Regions from separate parts of the Homo sapiens genome. Here region 2 is linked to region 1. Evidence: promoter capture Hi-C in human tissues and cell types (Jung and others, 2019). All regions are on one chromosome and are shown on one strand. The core of a region is centred on a gene start or on the middle of the fragment in contact, and the rest is flanking DNA. Distances in the headings are between cores, read along the strand shown.

Region 1 (4,286 bases), core at 95-2,594:
GCTTCCACTCTGTCCAGCTGCGGTACTTTACAACATGGGTTGGTAAACTAAGATCTGAAATAAGAATAACCGTTGAAACGGTTGAAAAAAGATCAAAAGGGCCTGGCTCAGTGGCTCACACCTGTAATTCCAGCACCTTGGGAGGCTGAGGTGGGAGGATCACTTGAGCCCTGGATGTCCAGGCTGCAGTGAGCCGAGATCATGCCACTGTACTCCGGCCTAGGCAGCAGAGCAAGACTGCTCTCTCTGTCTTTCTTTAACCCTCACCTTCCCTTCAAAACCTAACAAAGACCATGTTTAAATCAATAGAAGAACATTTTATGACGTGAAAATTATATGAAATTCAAATTTCAGTGTCCATACATAAATCTTTATAGGAACACAGCCCATATTTTCTATGACTGCTTTTGAGCTCCAATGGCAGAGTTGAGTAGCTGAGAAAGAGATCTTATGGTCCACAAAGCCTAAATATTTACTGTACGGCCCAAAGAAAAACTTTGCTGAGCCTGCTATACAATAAGGGCTTCATGATTAAATAACTGGGTCGTACACCAAGATTCTGAACATATAGGCAGGCCCTCTTAAGTTTAGTGTCTTTGTGTAATGGAAGTAATAACTATTTTGCCTTTAAGTTGCCATAAACATCAAATGAGATAATGCACTTAGAAAATAAAAACAAAAAAAACTTATAAACAAGACAGCTTTATCATGTATTGAAGGTGGTAGAATAAGAAAACATTAAACGTTTTTATTCTCATTTCCCCTTCTTTCCTTTACAGCTTTCACTTAAACTTGAAATTTCAAGAGAAAATTCACTTTTGAAGTTTTTACTTTTCAAGTGATAATAGGGTCACAGGTTCTTTCCTTCCAGTCTTTTTGTGTTGCTCCCACTCCCTTTTCTTTCTCACATGTAATTTTTTTCCATTTTCTTTAAATAGTATCTCAACTGGGCTCACAATAGCTCAGGGAAGGAGAAACTGGGACATGCCTGATTAATCCATTTTACAGGCCAGGAAACTGAGGCAGATCCCAGTTGCCTCCGAAGCTCTGACTCAGCAGCATGCAGAGAGCCCTGCCGCTCTCTGCGCCTTTTCTAAACAAATAGAACAAAACTAACCTTGCCAGGTTTCCAAGCTTGGATCTCTAACACTCCTTCAACGTTCACCCCGGCGTTCCTCCCCGCTGCGCCCCCTCCCTCTCCTTGCCGCCCCCTCCTCGGGAGCAGGTGGTAGGCTCCGCGCCCAACGCGCAAGCGCGCGGCATCGTGGGGCGGGGGTGGGGCGGGACTGAGGGCGGAGTGTGAGCGGGCTCGGTTTTGGGCCGCGGCGGGAGCGGGAGTCGCCGCCACTCGAGTGCGCAGGCGCCTGGCGATTACCGGTCTCACCATGGAGCGGAAAGGTGAGCGGTGGAGCGGCCTCCGCCACGAGGGGCAATGGTCGCCGGGGCGAGGCCCGGGTCAGCGCCGGGAGCTTCGCTTAACTGCCGCGGTTCGGTTCCCGGACGTGCGGCGCCCCTCCACTGAGGTGGCGCCGCCCCACACCCCCTGCCTCTGGGCTGCGGGTCCGCGCCCCTCAGTCCGGGCGTCCTCTGGCGCCGGCCGTAGCCGCCCCTTGTTCCCCGCCAGGCCGGCTCGCGCCTTGGGGCCACTCCAGGGCCCGGCCCTTGGCGGGCGACGCAGACCCCCACCCGCCCGCCCCCTGACCCGGCCTGAGACCCCTCCGGCGCATCCCGCCCGGGCGCTGCTCTGCGCCCCGTGGGCCGCCAGCCCCACGGCCGGCCGCCTCGCCGGAGCCCGCAGCCGCCCCCGAGGCAGGCCCCGCAGCCGGGCCTGGCGCCCCTGCTGGGTCTCCACCCTCACCTTGGTCGCCTCCTTTCCTCCACATTCGCCCTTCATCCATCCCTCTCTCCTGCAGTGCTTGCGCTCCAGGCCCGAAAGAAAAGGACCAAGGCCAAGAAGGACAAAGCCCAAAGGAAGTGAGTCTTGTACCCCAACATCCCATTCTTTGGATTTTCCTCCGGCACCTTCTCTGCTCTGGTTTCACGTCTTGAACGTGCACCGGGTTTGGGCACCCTGTGGCTGCAGCCACATGGCCTCGGGGCAGCTCGGAGGGTCGCTCTCCAGCAACCATGTGGAAGAGAGCTGCTGTTGCTCAACGCCAGGCCTGGGTCTTAGCAGCCCCGGGCCTGCTGGAAAGGGCTGTCGGAGGAGGACCAGAGCCCGCCCGGTACCTTTCCTCCCCAACTCCACAGAGGAGGCACAAACTCCCCTAGCTTGGACCTCCCCACCGGAGCTGGTAGATCATTATCGGTCTGTTTCTGAACTCTGGTCTCTCTTACCTGCTCCCCAACGTCTTAACTTGCCTCCGACGTCTTCACGGTAGGCCTTAAGGAAATTCTTGAATGAATTTTTCCGTGTTTACTTTGGGTTCTACCAACCACACACTCCCTTTCATAGAGGAGGGCATGGGGCTTTTCCCTGGGTTAGTCAACTTCCTGAGCCTGTAAGGCGTATCGGCTTTTTTGCAGTGTGCCGGCAGACCGCTGTGTATACAGTCGGTGTCTGTTAACTGCTTCTCTTCTGTCTAAACCTCAACCAGATGCAGATAATCTTCCGGAGTGGACATCACAATAGTAACGGGAGAGTTCTTTAACAAACATTGATGATTCTGGTTTGGCGTATTAAGCGCCACATGTCCAGTTTTATCAGTAGGATGCATAACAGTAGTTTAGTGCTATCGTGGCAAGTTCAAAAGTTGGTCACAGCCTAGTAGAAACTCAGGTAGCAGGCTTAGCAGCAAGTGAGGCTAAGCCTTAAGAACTTTCATCATGTACTAACGTTTAATTGCAAAGGATCTTGGAAATCAGCTCTTACACACTTTGTATTCAGAGAGAGCTTGTATGCCTAGTTATTAATACATCTTAATTTTAGATGTATTATCTTTATAGTTTTACATTTATTTGATGTTTTGTGGCATCGTATGCGGTCTAATTCCCTCTGAGCTGATACAACACATTTCAAAGGCCTTCCTAGGTCACCCCACTGAATGACAATACCAGATTAGGGGGGTGTAGGGGTGTGTGTTGTTTTTGGAGGCTACCTACTGTTTGGGGAGAGCACATAATGACTTCTCTCTTTCAATAGAACTAAAGTGGTAGGTGACCTCACCTCTTGCTCCATTTTCTCTTCTGTCTTATGAAATGTATTTTGTAAGTGCTTGGTGACGAAGTCTTGTAAATGAGAGTTTGTGTGTGTCTGTTTACCTTTGGATTATCCATATATGGGATTATTCAAAACCAGTTTTTAATCCTAGATCGTTTAATAGAAACAGCAAGGTGCTAACTTGGTTCTAGTGTGCAGTAGGACTTGAAATGTTACTTTTCTGTGCCTAGTTTAGTTATTCTTTGTGGAATTGATGAGAATGTGTTAAAACGTTCTTTTCTATTGATACAAGGAAGTTGCAGTTTTTATTATATTACTCTGTATTTTTTAGAAATCCTGGTCTCTCAGACTATTTGTCCAGATCTCTCTTACCACTTAGAAATTAATTTGAGATTAGCCCAAATCAAGCTGTAATTTGAGGGGTAAATGTATATAGATGATATACTTTAAGCACCAGAAATCTGTTACTTTCGATTATCTATTTAGACCATATGCTTTATTTCTAAAGTCAGATGTGTATCTGTTACCCCATTCACTACTATGGATAACTTAGAGTTATTTGTGTTAATTGTTTGCAAGTATGGATTATAGATAATCTAGCAGTCATTTTACTGAATATTTCATCTTGAACAACTTTGAATCCTGAAAATATGCGTGAATGAACTGCCCCCATTTCCTTGTAACTTCAGAGGTGTTTTATTTTTGGATTTGTTTCCAATTAATAAGTTTTTTTTGTTTGTTTGTTTTTGAATTTACCTACCTTTTTTTTCTTTTTCTTTTTGAGGCAAAAAGAAAGCCTGTTGCCCAGGCTGCAGTGCAATGGTGCGATCTCGGCTCACTGCAACCTCCACCTACCAGATTCAAGCAATTCTCTTGCCTCAGCCCCCCAAGTAGCTGGGACTACAGGCGTGTGCCACTACGCCTGGTTAATTTTTGTATTTTTTGTAGAGAGAGAGTTTCGCCATGTTGCCCAGGCTGGTCTCGAACTCCTGAGCTCAGGTAATCCGCCTGCCTCAGCCTCCCAAAGTGCTGGGATTACAGGCATGAGCCACTGCACCTTGCTCTTTTTCTTTCTTCCTTTTTGTCTTTCTTTCTGTCTTTCTTTTCTTTTGTTTGTATCCCAGCC
Region 2 (4,449 bases), core at 1-2,500, 640 kb after region 1:
GCCTCAGCCTCTTCCAACTCATGTTCTAACATTCATGTTTATGCTGTCAGGGTGAATTTAAAAAAAAAGCTCTCTTCCCACTATCTTGGAGCCTGTAGAGGCCTGCTGAGAACAGGACTTCCAAAAGGCAAATATGGGCGGGGTGTAGTGGCTCATGCCTGTAATCCCAGTGCTTTGGGAGGCTGAGGCAGGAGGATTATTTGAGGCTAGGAGTTCAAGACCAATGTGGGCAACACAGCAAGACATTGTCTCTACAAAAAAAAAAAAATTAGCCAGGTGTAGTGGCACATGCCTGCAATCCTAGCTACACAAGAGGCTGAGGTGGGAGCACTGCCTGACCCCAGGAATTTGAAACTGCAGTAAGCTTTGATCATACCACTGAATTCCAGCCTGGGTGATAAAGAGACTCTGTCTCAAAAATAATAATAAGATAAATACAATACATTTGGAAGGCTGTAGTCCAAGGCCATTTTTTGCTAGCTGTAAGTGGGGCCTCCAGAACCAAAGCGAGGACACAGCTCTTATTAAAATTGAGGTATTGGCCAAGTGCGGTGGCTCACGACTGTAATCCCAGCACTTTGGGAGGCCGAGGACAGTGGATCACGAGGTCAGGAGATTGAGACCATCCTGGCTAACATGGTGAAAACCCATCTCTACTAAAAATACAAAAAATTAGCCGGGCGTGGTGGTGGGCACCTGTAGTCCCAGCTACTTGGGAGGCTGAGGCAGGAGAATGGCATGAACCTGGGAGGTGGAGCTTGCAATGAGCCAAGATCGCGCCACTGCACTCCAGCCTGGGCGACAGAGCGAGACTCCGTCCCAAAAAAAAAAAAAAAAAAAAAAAAAAATTGAAGGTATTTATGCTCGAAATGAAACTAATTCTATTTAGGCAAGAGATGTACTTACATGTATAAAGCAAAGAACAACACACTGACTGCTGGCAGCAAACTGAAGAAAACCAGCATAATCTGGGGAAAGGTAAACTCAGGCCCATGGAAACAGTGGCATGGTTTGTGCTAAATTCCCAAGCAATCTTGCTAAAGCTATTGAACACAGAATCTGTGTGACGCTGTGCCCCTCAAGGACTTAAGCTAATGAAAAGTAAATAAATAAAAGTAGATTTATAAGAAAAAAAGAGTACAAATCTAAACATACCACTTCCTTGACTAAAACCCTTCCATAGTTTCCTACAGCTCTTAGAGTCCACCTTGCATACAAGGCTGGGTTGTTATAAACTCCCACAGCCTAGGTACCACCTTTTCCTAGCACTCACACCTCTGGGCTCAACCTACTTCAGTACTCATCACTATCTGTTTAATGTCCGTTGCCTACACAAGGCTTTGGGCTCTAGCCTGGTTTCTGCGTCACAGTGGTTTCTCCAGCAACTCACACTGTGGGCTCTCCACACATCCTGTGAGTGACTCCCTGGGTCCCTCATGTGCAAGGTGGGAAGCACTGAAGCTTCCTGCTGGCAGGATATCTTCTGTACCCACTGTGGTGTGCAGCCTGCTCTAGCAGTGGACCCCAACACTTGTGAAGCCTGCAGGAAGCCCACGGCCTCTAAACTCAGTGCAGTCGTGAAGACTCTCTTTGACATCCATTCTCAAAATTCTCCTGGACTTGGAATCTGGACTGCCTACTGGATTCTCACGACTTACCAACCGATATCTTTGACTGGTGCTACCCAAACTGTTTTCATGTCAGGGGACCTAGAGAGACAGATATTTGTACATTGCATTGCAGATGCTGCTGCTTAAAGTCAGAAGTTCACATTGCAGATGTCACTGCTTCAAGCCAGAAGCGACCAACTGGGGCTTTGACAGCCCTGAGGGGCGAGCGGATCAATATCTTGGCAAAATTATAGACCATCCAGGAGTTCGAGACCAGCCTGACTAACATGGAGAAGCCCCGTCTCTACTAAAAATACAAAATTAGCTGGGCATGGTGGCACATGCCTGTAATCCCAGCTACTTGGGAGGCTGAGGCAGGAGAATTGCTTGAACCTGGGAGGCAGAGGTTGCGGTGAGCCGAGATCGTGTCATTGCACTCCAGCCTGGGCAACAACAGCGAAACTCCGTCTCAAAAAAAAAGAAAAAAACAAAACAAAAACTGGCTGGGCGTGGTGGCTCACACCTGTAATCCCAGCACTTTGAGAAGTTGAGGCGGGCAGATCACAAGGTCAGGAGATCCAGACCATCCTGACTAACAGGGTGAAACCCTGTCTCTACTAAAAATACAAAAAATTAGCCGGGCGTGGAGGGCGCCTGTAGTTCCAGCTACTCGGGAGGCTAAGGCAGAAGAATGGCATAAACCTGGGAGGCGGAGCTTGCAGTGAGCCAAGACTGCACCACTGCACTCCAGCCTGGGCGACAGAGTGAGACTCCGTCTCAAAAACAAACAAACGAAAAACCCAAAAAAACCTATAGACCAACTGCGACACGCTGATTGGAATGCTCTACCCCAGGCATGGCATCTCAACTAGAATTATTCATTCATTCTGTCCATAAACATTTACTAAATGGGCTAAGGTGCAAGGGCAGCAATACTATTATATAGTGAACACTACTATAGAGTTAACCACGTGCTAGGAATGTCACATACATTAACTCATTTAGTTCTAACAATCCTACAATCAAATGCTATGATTATCCTCATTTAAAAGTGAGGGAACTGGAGGCCCAAGACCAAGTTAAGTAACTTGCTCAAGGTTACACAGCTAACTAGTAAAGGAGGATTTCACCCTAGGCCATTTAATCCAGAGTGTGACCTTAATTACTATGCTGCGAAGCACAGAGGTGAAGCTGGGGGTTTATGAAACTTGAAGCTACTCCAAAATACTTTTTTGGTGTGTGAGCCTTTGCATTTTCCAGGAGAGAGGGAAATCCAAGGCTGTCATCAGGGTCTGATAGGGATTAATGGTGAAGAACCACTGGTCAAGGTGGGGATTCTGACATCTGACATCTCTGGTCTATTAGCATCCTTGCCCAGAGCCCTGATAACCTCCACGTGGTCCCTGTCTCACAAGAGCTCTGCTCCTGGCCTCTCTTGGTCTGCTCTGACCTTCAAGCTTCACTCTCTTCATCAGGTAGATTCTTTGGGTAACCCGCTTTAGTGTAACTGCACTGTGTCAGAAGACACATAAGAGAAACCAGGTCTAAAAACAAAGCAGGCTGGGCACGGTGGCTCATGCCTGTAATCCCAGCACTTTGGGAGGCCGAAGTGGGCGGATCACTTGAGATCAGGAGTTCGAGACCAGCCTGACCAACATGGTGAAACCCCGCCTCTGCTAAAAAAAAAAAAAAATACAAAAATTAGCCAGGTGTGGTAGCACATGCCTAGCTACTTGGGAGGCTGAGGCAGGAGAATTGCTTGGACCCAGGAGGCGGAGGTTGCAGTGAGCCAAAATTGCATCACTGCACTCTAGCCTGGGCAACAACAGCAAAACTCTTGTCTCAAAAAAAAAAAAAAAAAAAAACCCATAAATAAATAAATAAAAATAAAAACAAAGCAGACATAGGTTGAAAAGGGATTGCAAAATATCCTCAGACTCCCTGGGCCCTGTGGCTCCTGCAGCTCACCTCTGTCAAATACTCACATGGTTTAACTGAGCACAACTGCACTCCACTGGGACTTTCTAAGGAAAATCAGTGGTGTGGTTAAGAGCACAGGCTCTGAAGTCAGGTCTGGGTTTTAATCCAGGCTGAACTTCTGTGTAGCCTTGGGCAGGCTCTCTGAGCCTCAGATGTCACTTCTGAGAAAATGGGGATAATAGTGGCACTTGCTTCATAGCCTGCTGTAAGGGATTAAATGAGGGCACATATGCCTGTACTCTAGAAATACCAGCTATCAGGAGGAGGGGAAGGAAGAGGAACCTAAAGGGAAATGCTTTTGAAGCAATACGAAGTCCTAAAACAGCTAGGACTAGTGGCAACCACCCTGGACTAGAAGTCTACAGAATTGGCTTCTAATCTCGATTCTATCTCTATGTCTGCCTCTTTATCTGTAAAATGAAATGCTGGCCCAAATTACCCTAAGATCCTTTCTACTGCTCATGCTAATATTTATTTTTATCACATATAAATGTGATTAATATATACCAGCCACTTTTTAAAGCACCTTACCTATATTAACTCTTAATCTTAAAAATAACTGATGAGGAAGTAGGTATATTATACCCATTTTACAGATGAGGCAACTGAGGCTTAGAGGTATAGTACCTTGTCCAAGGTTCCAACACTACTATGTGTTGAAGCCAGAATTCAAAGCCAGGCTGGCTGGCCCCAGAGCCCATACTTCTCAATATCTGGCGCACTTCTTCCTTCTGCTAATTCACTGTGACTGGCACACCGTCAGCACTCAAAACACTTGAATACGGGTTAACTTCCATCTCACCCACTGTAACTTAAACCCAGACCTTCTTGGCCTACCCGCAATGGAAAAAGGGAATAG

What was found. The method cuts DNA at HindIII sites, captures the fragments that hold promoters and counts their contacts. A contact is called where the count stands out against the background at its distance.
Region 2: a contact is called between a fragment that was not itself captured here and the fragment with the promoter of SRPK1 in region 1, in 1 of the 25 tissues and cell types used here (dorsolateral prefrontal cortex).

Annotation. Positions count from the first base shown.
Region 1 is chr6:35,918,156-35,922,441 of GRCh38, reverse strand. SRPK1 (SRSF protein kinase 1) reads left to right here and starts at 1,344. Exons shown (of 16, transcript NM_003137.5): 1 at 1,344-1,398; 2 at 1,914-1,974. The coding sequence starts at 1,386. RefSeq lists silencers at 1,002-1,061, 1,092-1,681. The HindIII fragment of the contact is 10,140 bases long and covers 1-3,231 here.
Region 2 is chr6:35,275,818-35,280,266 of GRCh38, reverse strand. All of the region lies in intron 1 of ZNF76 (zinc finger protein 76), which reads right to left. Among named protein-coding and RNA genes, the nearest start is that of ZNF76, 18 kb to the right of the region's middle. The HindIII fragment of the contact is 5,242 bases long and covers 1-3,871 here.